Linked DNA regions of Homo sapiens: all the other regions are linked to region 3. Evidence: promoter capture Hi-C in 16 types of primary human blood cells and fetal thymus (Javierre and others, 2016). All regions are on one chromosome and are shown on one strand. The core of a region is centred on a gene start or on the middle of the fragment in contact, and the rest is flanking DNA. Distances in the headings are between cores, read along the strand shown.

The links. The method cuts DNA at HindIII sites, captures the fragments that hold promoters and counts their contacts. A CHiCAGO score of 5 or more calls a contact.
Region 1: the fragment with the promoter of IFNL3 here is called in contact with the fragment with the promoter of EID2B in region 3 in 3 of 17 cell types (neutrophils, erythroblasts and monocytes); the score reaches 10.9 in neutrophils.
Region 2: a contact is called between a fragment that was not itself captured here and the fragment with the promoter of EID2B in region 3, in 1 of 17 cell types (neutrophils). The highest score is 5.0, in neutrophils.

What each region holds. Positions count from the first base shown.
Region 1 is chr19:39,242,854-39,246,497 of GRCh38, forward strand. It overlaps IFNL3 (interferon lambda 3), which reads right to left and starts at 2,153. Exons shown (of 5, transcript NM_172139.4): 1 at 1,935-2,153; 2 at 1,564-1,641; 3 at 1,155-1,304; 4 at 971-1,054; 5 at 700-877. The coding sequence starts at 2,114. The coding sequence ends at 779. It also overlaps the pseudogene IFNL4. The HindIII fragment of the contact is 30,036 bases long and covers 1-3,644 here.
Region 2 is chr19:39,138,923-39,143,067 of GRCh38, forward strand. The region is part of intron 1 of PAK4 (p21 (RAC1) activated kinase 4); the gene reads left to right. Among named protein-coding and RNA genes, the nearest start is that of PAK4-AS1, 4.4 kb to the left of the region's middle. RefSeq lists an enhancer at 115-704. The HindIII fragment of the contact is 8,541 bases long and covers 1-4,145 here.
Region 3 is chr19:39,531,247-39,535,012 of GRCh38, forward strand. EID2B (EP300 interacting inhibitor of differentiation 2B) reads right to left here and starts at 1,606. Exons shown (of 1, transcript NM_152361.3): 1 at 1-1,606. The coding sequence starts at 1,556. The coding sequence ends at 1,071. It also overlaps the pseudogene CRIPTOP7. The HindIII fragment of the contact is 7,702 bases long and covers 284-3,766 here.

The sequences.
Region 1 (3,644 bases), core at 903-3,402, 290 kb before region 3:
CAGTGAGATGTGATCACGCAAGAGACAGGATCTTGCTGTTGCTCAGGCTGGTCGTGAACTCCTGACCTCAAACAGTCCTCCCATCTCAGCTTCCACCAGTAGCTGGGATTATGGGCTTGTGCCACCACACCCAGCCAATTCTCTAATTTTTTATAGAGACAGGATCTTGCTATGTTGCCCAGGCTGGTCTGGGCTCAAGTGATCCTCCCAACTCAGCCACCCAAAGTGCTGTGATTACAGGCTTGAGCAATCACATCCAGGCTCTAAATTAATTTTAAAGATGCTTCATTTCACCCAATACATCCAAAGTGCTATCATTTCAACATCTAATGAATATATAAATTATAATTAAGCTGTTTTACTTTTTTTTTTTTCTCCACAGTAAATCTTCAAATTCTGGGGTATGTTTTACACTCACTGAAAAAATGAGGTTGCACCACCTACATTCCAGGTGCTCGATAGTGACATGTGACCTGGGGACCCCAGTGGACAGCACAGACTCAATGAACCTGCTGTTCTAGATGCTACTTTTAGGGTAATTTGTTATGGCAGCAATGCAAAGGAAATACACACCAACGCACACACAGTCCCACGTCATGGGTGTCTTTTCCTCATTGTTTATTTCAACAAGGATTTCAAAAAGTAGAAAAATAAACATTTTCCTGGAGGTGAGTTGGATTTACATACACAAATACATAAATAGCGACTGGGTGACAATAAATTAAGCCAAGTGGCTAATTTATAAATAAAATCTCAGGTTGCATGACTGGCGGAAGGGTCAGACACACAGGTCCCCGCTGGCAACACAATTCAGGTCTCGCGTGAGGAGGCGGAAGAGGTTGAAGGTGACAGAGGCCTCGAGGCAGCCAGGGGACTCCTGTAGGGAGGAGGGGATGGGTCAGGGGCTGTCTGGGTTCTGGGCTCCCAGTGGCTCCCCAGACCTCAGTCCCTCTCTTCCCGGGTCACTCACCTTTTTTGGGGCCTCCTGGAGCCGGTGCAGCCAATGGTGGAGGCGGCCCCGGGTCCTGGGCCCTGCCGTGGGCTGAGGCTGGATCTGTGGGCAGAGGAGGGCGGTGTGTGAGCCGGGGCCTTGGCCAGGGGAAGGACGCTGCTCAGAGCTCACAGACCTGGGTGCCCGGGCCCTGACGACTCACACAGGCCCGGAGCTGGGAGAGGATATGGTGCAGGGTGTGAAGGGGCTGGTCCAAGACATCCCCCAGGGCTGGGTCAGTGTCAGCGGTGGCCTCCAGAACCTTCAGCGTCAGGGCCAGCTCAGCCTCCAAAGCCACGGGGCGCTCCCTCACCTGAGGAGAGGTGAGAAAGAGCAGGTGAGGGGGGAGGTGAGGGGAACAGGTTGGGGGAGGAGGATAGAGAGGAACAAGTGAAGGTGACAGGCACAGGGGAGAGGGCACAGCCAGTGTGGTCAGGTAGGAGCAGAGGGAAGGGGTAGCAGGTGTGGGGAGAGGAGAGAGGGACAATGGAGAAGGAGAAGGTGAAGGGGCCACTACAGAGCCAGGTGAGCAGGGCTGGGAGGGCAGGGGTGGGCCTGACTCCCCCTCTCACCTGCAGCTGCCTCAGGTCCCAGGTCCTGGGGAAGAGGCGGGAGCGGCACTTGCAGTCCTTCAGCAGAAGCGACTCTTCCTAGACAGCAAAGGCACAGGTTAGCCCCAGCAGGAGGGGTGGAGGTTAGACCACTCTGATGGGATTGGAGGATGGCTGACAACAGGATAGGGGAGGTTAACTGCTGGGAGGATGGTAGAGGACCCTCTTCTTCAGGAAAACATGAGTCAGTCCCTGCAGTAGGAGCATGAGATAGCCCACTGCAGGGAGGGTGGAGGCTAGCCCAGTGAAGGAAGCTGGGAGTGGGAAAGCATGGTGACCCTTGGAGTGCGGGTGGAGGCTAGTCCATGGCAGGAGGGCAGGGGGAGACTCACTAAGGCATCTTTGGCCCTCTTAAAGGCCTGCAGCTCCTGTGGAGACAGGGACTTGAACTGGGCTATGTGGCAGCCCCTTGCATCCGGGAGAGCCCCGCGGAGCCTGGCGACAGGAACTGCTCCAGTCACGGTCAGCACTGCGGCCATCAGCACCAGCACTGGCATGCAGTCCCCGGTCATGTCTGTGTCACAGAGAGAAAGGGAGCTGAGGGAATGCAGAGGCTGCCCACTGAGGGCAGGGGCTGCAGGAGCTGAGCACGGACAGAGATGTGGGACTCACCTAGTTTCATTCCTGATCTCTGGTCTTTGTCAGCAGAAGAAACACTCTGAGGCTGTCACCCAGGGTCTGTTTGGGTCTTGTCTGGAGTCTCTGTTCTTTTCAGTCCCCTCTTCTGGATCTCAGACTGTGTCCTGGCTTTGACTCTTTCTGTCAGTTTTGAGCTCTGTCTGGGATGTAATTCCTGCCTGAGCTCCATGGGGCAGCTTTTATCCCTGACAGAAGGGCAGTCCCAGCTGATGTAGGAAAAGTGAAAACACAGCCTCAGGTAAGACACCGGCCACCAGGGGAGCCCCAGGCTGGGAAAGCCCAGAGCAGGGCAGGGCTAGTGAGCCAGATGAGCAGCTGGAGGGAAAGAGAAACTGATGGAGACTCAGGGGTAACCTACAGGAAGGTATGTTCCCAAGAGGATTCCACCTGCTCTGGTTTTGTTGTTGTTTAAGACAGGGTCTCACTCTGTCACTGCAGTGCAATGGCATGATCACAGCTCACTGCAGCCTCAAACTCCTGGGCTCAAGCCATCCTCCTCACCCAGCCTATTAAAGTGCTGAGATTACAGGCCTGAGCCACCACTCCTGGCATATATATATATATATATATATATATATTTTGAGACAGGGTCTTGTTCGGTCACCCAGGCTGGAGTGCAGTGCAAAATCTTGGCTAACTGCAACCTCCGCCTCCTGGGTTCAAGCAATTCTCTTGCCTTAGCCTCCCAAGTAGCTGAGATTACAGATTTGTGCCACCATTCCCAGCTAATTTTTATATTTTTAGTAGAGATGGCGTTTCACCATGTTGGCAAGGCTGGTCTCAAATTCCTGATGTCAAGTCATCTCTCTGTCTAGGCCTCCCAAATTGCTGGGATTTCAGTGTGAGCCACCATGCCCAGAGGCCAATATTTCTTAATTGCCCAGGCAAGGAAGGACTCAGGAATATGAGGCTCTGCTCAAGAATTGAGGTGTGACGAAGGACTTGAAGGACACCACGTGGGTGCCGTCTTTCTTAGGGAAGTTCAGGCAGTGGTGAAGAGCATGGGTCTTGGAGATGAAGGGTCTGGGGTTCAAACCTGGTTCTGACCCTCACTAGCCGTGTGACCTTGGCAAGGAGGGGTGCATTCAGCAACGCAGATTGCTAATGCACAGATTTGGAGAAAAAATTAATAACACAATTGTTTGTGTATTTATGTGAGTGATTATTTAATAGAATCCACTCATTAAGACCATACTAGGACCTCAGCTGGAGAGTTTAAAACGTGATCTCAACGGACACTACTCCTCCACAAGGCAAGTATGCTAACCCATCCTATAGGTGAGGAAACAGAGGCTCAGAAAAGTAATTTGCCCTGAATTCCACTGTAATTAACTGGCAGGGTCAGAACTGAAACTCAGGCCACCTGAGTCCCTGGCTCGGCCTCTTTTTTTGCTGTAAGGTGC
Region 2 (4,145 bases), core at 424-2,923, 390 kb before region 3:
GGATACCCCAGCACCCTCCAGTGGGTCAGTGGGGGGTTCTCCATCCCCCACTGAGCTGTGACAGGTGGAGGGCAGCAGGTGTGATGGAGATTACAGCCGATTCCTCCCCTGATTCACATCATCCCCCACAGCCCATGGCTGGCTGGGGAGGGGCTGGCCCTGTCCCTCCAGCAGCTTTGGCAGGGCCCGTCCCTCCCCACTTTCCTGCAGCACCCCAGCCTCGCTGGCCTTTGTGGAGTGCTCGGACTTCATTTATTCTGTGGGTCTTGGCTTAAAGGTCAGCACCTCTGGGAAGCCTCCTCGGGCCTCCCTCCTGTCAGAGCTGGTGATCAGCCGCACGGCCCCTTGCCAGTTCTTGGGATCATGGTTGTTCATCTGCTGCAACTCCTGCAGACACTGAGAAGTACACTGAGGGGGATGCCTGAGCTGGGCCAGTGTCGGGGTACCCAGCGGGATAAAGGGTTCGGGACCTGGGCTCCAAGGAGGGGGCTGGGAAGGGGTGTTCAGGGAGGACTGAGTGATGGCTTGGAGGCGGCTGGACCAGGAACACCTCATGGGAGTTTGCGAATGGGGAGGGGACTCTGGAGATGGCTGTGCCAGGCCTGACTTCATTCCTTGCATTCCTCAGCAGGCCCCAGACTCCTGATGGTCCTAAGTGGGGGAAGGTGAGCCAGAGAGGGCCTTCTGGGTACTGCCCTCCCCCCACTCCATCAGTCTGTCTCAGTCTCTCTTTACACCCTCCCCCATCCAGGTCTCAGGGCTGGATCCATCCTCCTGCCCACTCCCCAATCTCCTTATCCTTTGGCTGCGCCTTAGGGTCACCCGGGGTGGGAGGCACTGCAGGGGCCCAAGCTGGACCATTTGAAGCTGACTGTACAGCTGTGGGGTCTGGGCCTTGGGGTTTTTTAATGCTCCCCTGGCGACTCTGACATGCTTCTGAGCTGGAGTGAGGGCTGCTGGCCTGCAGGAATGGCAACAAATGTGTTTTAGCTTTTGGCATGTTCTGGGTGCTTTTCTAGGCTTCTGACATGGAGGGGTTAAGTCACGGCACGCTACGGGGACATGTGACTGTGATTCCTGTGTTCCAGATAAGGCAACTGAGGCCCAGAGAAGGCCTCGAGCTTGGCGATGGCAGTCTCTGTCACTGTCTTATCTTCCCATTTCTGGTCTGTCCAGATGTCTGTCTGGGCCTTCTCTGTTTCACCTCTGTCTCTCTCCCTGTTTTTCTGCCTCTTATCTCCCTTCCCCACCCCACCCTCCTGCATTTCAGCTTCCCTCCTCCCCTGGCAGAAACTTCCCAGATTTCTGTGTTTTGAGGCAGGATCTGGCTGAAGCCACAGAGGGGAGATGGGTTCTGCAGGCCCAGGACATCCTTCTGAGGGGAAGGATGCTGATGTCACCACGCTGGCCTCCCTAACAGCTCCTGACACGTGGAGTCTGGGGCTGGGGGCAACACACCATCTGACTGACAGTCCAAGGGTGGCTAGGGCTGGCTCTGCAAGTTTGCAGGGAGGACTGTCCCCACGGGTTGACTCTGACATGCCCTGTGACACCAGCCACCTCTACGGTCCCGGGAGTCCTCTACTGCCAGTTAATGTTTCAGCTTTTGTGGGTAGGACTGCCTGTCGGTCAGTAGTTTAATTGCAACAAAGGTTTGTGCTAGAAAGGCGAATATTACATTGCAAGAGCCTTTATTATTTGATGGGACTAGGGGGGACTGATAGCTGATGGTCCCGTATGTCCCCACTCACTGAGGGATGAGGGCTCCCCTTGCCTCCTCTCCCCCTACCCCTCTCCAGCGAAGGGCTCAGGAGTCCAGCTCCACCTGCAGCCTCTCCCTGCTCCGGCACAGCATCCTCTGACCTTGGGCGAGGCCCTGAGCCTCAGATGTTTTTGAGTTCCCACATCTGGAGCAGGAGGATAATGATTCCTGCTGCCTCCCAGGGTTGCTGGGAGGATGAAGTGAGTCTGCTGTGTGATGCTCAGAACAGGGCCACTGTCATTATGCCATTCTGGTTACTAGTACTCTTATTACCATTACACTTATTAGAGAGGCAGGATCCGTGCTTGGATTTAGTAGTTAGGATTCACAGGGTGAGTGATCCATAATTCTTTGCCATTACGATGAGGTCACATTTCCTTTGGTAAAATGTTGAACACCTTTGTATTATGGAAATGTTCACACATACCCAGAAGAATAGTCTCGCGCCCTCCTGGGGTCCCTGTCAGCAGCTCAGCAGGTAGCAGCTGTGGCCAGGCCTTGTCGCCTGTGCCTGCTCCTCACCTCCCTGCTTATTTCAGAGCAAATCCCAAACGTCGTACAGCCAGAAATATTCCACACTTTTCCAGAACAAGCCTGCCTCAGTCTCCTCATGCTTCCCCAGTTGTCTTATAATCCTTTTTTTTTTTTTGAGACAGAGTCTCACTCTGTCACCCAGGCTGGAGTGCAGTGGTGCGATCTTGGCTCACTGCAACCTCCGCCTCCTGGGTTCAAGTGATTCTCCTGCCTCAGCCTCCCGAGTAGCTGGGACTACAGGCGTGTGCCATGATGCCCGGCTAATTTTTGTATTTTTAGTAGAGATGGAGTCTCACCATATTGATCAGGCTGGTCTTGAAGTCCTGACCTCAAGTGATATAACCATCTCAGCCTCCCAAAGTGCTGGAATTATAGGCGTGAGCCACCGTACCCTGCCATAATCCTTTTTCATTTGTTTTTTGTTGTTGTTGTTTGAGACAGAGTCTCACTCTGTCTCCCAGGCTGGAGTGCGGTGGCACGATCTCGGCTCACTGCAACCTCCGCCTCCCAGGTTCAAGCACTTCTCCCTGCCTCAGCCTCCCGAGTAGCTGGGATTACAGGCGCCCGCCACCACGCCTGGCTAAGTTTTGTATTTTTTAGTAGAGACAGAGTTTCCTAGGCTGGTCTCGAACTCCTGACCTCAAGTGATCCACCCGCCTCGGCCTCCCAAAATGTTGGGATTATAGGCGTGAGCCACGGCGCCCGGCCCATTTGTTTGATTTGGGTCTGGACAAGGTCTACACTTTGCATCCGGTTGATAGGCCTCTTTTTTTTGTTTTGTTTTGTTCCCTTTGTTACCCAGGCTGAAGTGCAGTGGAGCGATCAGAGCTCACGTGCAGCCTTGACCTCCCCTGCTCAAGCAATCCTCCCGCCTCAGTCTCCTGAATAGCTGGGACCACAGGTGTGCGCCGTCATGCTCAGATACTGGCATCAGCTCTTTGGCGTGCATGTTGTCGTAGTTTTTCTACAGGCGACCTAGGCCATTTGTCCTGGAGTTTTGCAGTCTGGGGCCAGCTGATACATCCTTGTGGTGTCATTGCACGTGTTCTCTGTCTCTGTGCTTCCTGTAAGTTAGGACTTAGGTCTAGAAGCTCGATCTGATGCAGGTTCAGTTTCTTCTGGCAAGCACGCTTTCTTAGGTGGTTGCTTGGATGAGCATCAGAATTACTTACATGTCTGTATGACTGTCAAGTTCAGTTTTCAAGTAAAAATTAAGTTTTTTTTAAAAAAGCGAGTGGGTTGAGAAGAACACTCTGAAGTCACTCCTAGTAAGGCTGGTACCCAGATCCAGCAGAAGTAGGGTGGGAGGGACCAAAGGACTGAGGCTCGGGTCCCCCCTTCCCCACCCCCCGGGGCCTGGGAGCAATAGGCTGGGTGCCCCGGCTTCAAGTAAACCAGTGGCATTAACATGTGGGCCTCTGGTTCCTGCTTTGCTAGGGCCACAGGCTTCCAGCTGAGAGCTGCTGCCACCCACCCTGGCAACCCCTTCCGCATCGCGTGGTGGTGACACCTTCAGAACAGAGTGGTCTCCCACCCCAGCTCTACCCTTGGCTGCCTGTGTCACCCTGGGTGGCTTTCCCAGCCTCTCTACCTGCTTCCTTCTTGACAGCCTGATGGTGGCCATACGTCCCTTGGGCTGTGGTGACTGGGCCTCTGGGAGCTGCCCTTCCACTTCTGCATTTTAACATAAACCTCCTTGACCTCAGCTGCTCCATTCTCTGCTCCCTTCCAGCCACTCGGATTCCAGTCCTGGGGGCCTCCTCACTGACCATGCCCTCCACCCTCAGTGCTGTTCCCTGGTACTCTGCATGGCTTCCTCACCTGTATCCCGTCTTTGCTCAGACGCCAC
Region 3 (3,766 bases), core at 356-2,855:
TACTGCAACCTCCGCCTCCCAGGTTCAAGTGATTCTCCTGCCTCAGCCTCCCGAGTAGCTGGGACTACAAGCGCGTGCCACCACACCCAGTTAATTTTTTATTTTTCGTAGAGATGGGGTTTCACCATGTTGGCCAGGGTGGTCTTGAATTCCTGACCTCAGGTGATCCACCCGCCGTGGCCTCCCAAAGTGCTGGGATTACAGGCGTAAGCCAGTGCGCCCGGCCGATACTTTTTTTTGTTGAGTCTTGTGAATAGAATACATATTCTAGAATAAAATAAAAAGCTTAAAATTAACAAAAAACAAGTTTATTCCACACCTACCCAATTTCACATAGACTTGAAAACACTGATCATATAATACGTGGTTTTTTCTATTGAATATTTACTGTTCATCTAAAGTACCTCAGAAAACACAAATATGAATCTTACACTAGGATTTGTTGACATGACCACAAATTGTGAAATTTCAAAGTCCTCTCAATAGCCTTCCAATCCTAGTAACTCAGGTACACCTGGATTCCTGACAACTCTATTTCTTTGTTTTCTTTCATCACTTAGGTTCATTTCTATGGGTTCTGTTATTGGCATTTTTTTTTTCTCATATCTTTGCAAAACCATCCTTTATGGTGAAAGTCATGAAGGATTCTTCACAAATGCAGGAAAATGCATTGCTAACAAAGTGCTAAGTCAGAAGTGTCTTGGGACCTGTTTGAAAACAAGATTCGGCCGGGCGCGGTGGCTCACGCCTGTAAAGTAATCCCAGCACTTTGGGAGGCCGAAGCGGGAGGATCGCTCGGGTCCAAGCGTTCGGGACCAGCCTAGGGATGCGAGACTCCCTTCTCTATTTAAATAATACTAAAAAAGAAGAAAGAAAACAAGATTCAACAGTCTTGTCTGTTTCCATTTCGGAGTGTGCTTCCTCCTTCAATTGCACATTGCCGTATTCCCTTCCAGTTTGCATTCCCCCTAATGACTGAGTTAACTAAACTGGCACAGCCTGCCTGTTCTTTTGATCCCAAAAGGGTCACTTGGCTATTCCTTGCCACCAATGTCATCATCACAGCCGACTCAGTCGGCCAGAGGACTGAGGGCCTCGGAGGCAGTCAGCGCTACCGTAAACGCGACAGCAGCGAAGTCCATCTGCGGGGGATCCGCGTCAAAGGCTGCTTCCCTCGCCTTGCAGCCTTCCACAAACAGCCTGCGGCGTTCCTCGAAATCCCGTAGTAATCTGACCGGAATCATGGAGCTACCATCCAGATACTCGCGGAACAACAGCTGCCGGTTAATTTCTAAGAAAGCGAGCTGCTGATGGGGGTCTGGCGCGGAGGCCAGGCCCGGGACGCTGCTGGGGATGGGCCCGGGCACAGGGCCCGGCATCCGCGCCATGGACCGCGCAGCTTCGGCCACTGGGCCTTCCCGAGCCTCCTGCACCCGAACCCCGCCGCCGACTGCCCCCCGCAGTACGTCGCTGACGCCACTCGCGGTGCCCACCTGTGGGACACTGCTATCTCCGGGGAGCTCGGACATCTCCAACAGCCCAGTCGGCTCCGCCATAGTCCCAGCGTTTCTACGGAGACTGGAATAACGGCACTGCACTGCTGTATGCGAGACCTGCGCATGCGCGAGTCTCAGTGAGCGCGTAAACGCTGTGCGTGCCAGAGTGTGCGCATGCGTAAGCACGGTGGCCAATCCTCTAGCGTTCCCTAGCGGTCCTGAGTAGCCATTACGTCTGTAGCCGCCTCTGGTCCTCTGAGCGCCTGAGGACCTGCGGACTGCGCGGTATCTTAAATTACAACCACTTCAGTATTAATGTAAAGTTCCTTATACGGTCATTTTCCAGCTCCTGTCTTTTTTTTTTTTTTTTCAGACTGGGTCTCGCCCTGTCGCCTAGGCTGGAGTGCAGTGGTGCGATCTCGGTTACTGCTGCTTTGACCTCCCAGCCTCAAGCCATCCTCCTGCCTCAGCCTCTGGAGTAACTGGAACTACAGGTGCACACAACCACACCCAGCTGATTTTTTATTTTTTGTAGAAATTGGGTCTCACTATGTTGCCCAGGCTGGTCTCGAACTCCTGGACTCAAGTGATCATCCTGCCTTGGCCTCCCAAAGTGCTGGGATTACCGGCCTGAGCCACTCGGCCTGGCCTGTAAGTAATATTTTGACACTGGAAGTTTGGGGGTTTCCCAAAACCACCTTTAGGTTTGATAATTCCCAGAGCTCATTGAAATCTGTTATATTCACAGTCATGCTTATTACAGGCAAAGGACACAGATTAGAAGAGATGTATAAGGCACAATCTGGGATGGGGAGGGTTCCAAATGTGAAGTTCCTGTGTTCCTAGGGATGTGTTACCCTTTGTCGTCCATGTGTGGCAATAAGTGTGGGGGTAGTGCTAACATAGGACTCTCACCCAGGCTTTGGTGTCCAGAGTTTTTACTGGGGTTTTACTACCTAGGCATGCTTGATTAAACCATCGTCCATTTTGTTGAAGTCAATCTCCAGCCTCCTACCTGATATCACATGGCTCCAAGCCCCAACTCTCTAATGATATGGTTAGCCTTTCTGTGTGGCTAGCTCTGATCCTGATGATAACCCAAAACGTGAAAGTCTATGTTCCATTTAAAATCAGTCAGCTGTGGCTGGGTGTAGTGGCTCATGCCTGTAATCCCAGCAAGTTGGGAGGCAAAGGTGGGAGGATCGCTTGAGCCCATGAGTTTGAGACCAGCCTGGGCAACATAGTGAGACCCCTGTCCCTACAGAAAAAAAAAATTAGGCAGGCATGGTGGCATGTGCACCTGTAGTCTCAGCTATTCAGGAGGCTGAGGTGGGAGGATGACTTGAGCTTGGTAGGTGGACTGTGCAGTGAGCTATGATTGCACCACTGCACTCCAGCCCTGTATGACAGAGCAAGACCCTGTCTCGAAAAAAAATCCTTTGAATTTAGCTGGAATCCAAATATGAGAGTTGCTGGCAATTGAACTTCAGGAGGATCCATCTAAAAATTCTGACCTATCACAGGTCGTGTCTGGGAGCTGATTGGGTTGGAAATCATTCTGACTCACGTGTACCTTACTTTGTTTCTACAGTTCTCTTGGAGAGATGGAGTTCTCCTACATGTGACATATATGCTTCAAAAAGCACATTTGTGATATTCCACAGAAGACAAAAGAAAGGACTTCTCTGGAAGGTAACTTCAAGGGGACAACAACAGAGCTATGGACTGCAGGAAGATGGCCTGCTTCTCTTCCAGTGTGATTTGGATCATGGCCATTTTGAAGCCTTTGAACTGGGATTAGTTGCTGGGCTGGGTCATCAGGAACTTGCGTGTCCATCTCAGGGAGACCTGGCCTTCAGAAATGACAGCATTCGGCCCCAGGAGGAGCCTGCAATTCGGCCTCAGTCTTCCCAGCGTGTGCTGCCCATGGGGATACAGGACAGTAAGGAGCTAAGCAGAACCTGCTGCCTGAATGGGGGAACCTGCATTGGGGTCCTTTTGTGCCTGCCCCCCGTCCTTCTATGGATGGAACTGTGAGCACGATGTGTGCAAAGAGAACTGTGGGTCTGTGCTCCATGACACCTGGCTGCCCAAGAAGTGTTCCCTGTGTAAATGCTGGCACGGCCAGCTCTGCTGCTTTCCTCAGGCATTTTACTGGCTGTGATGGCCTTGTGATGGATGAGCATCTCATGGCTTCCAGGACTCCAGAACTACCACCGTCTGCATGTACCACTTTTATGCTAGCTGGCATCTGCCTTTCTATACAAAGT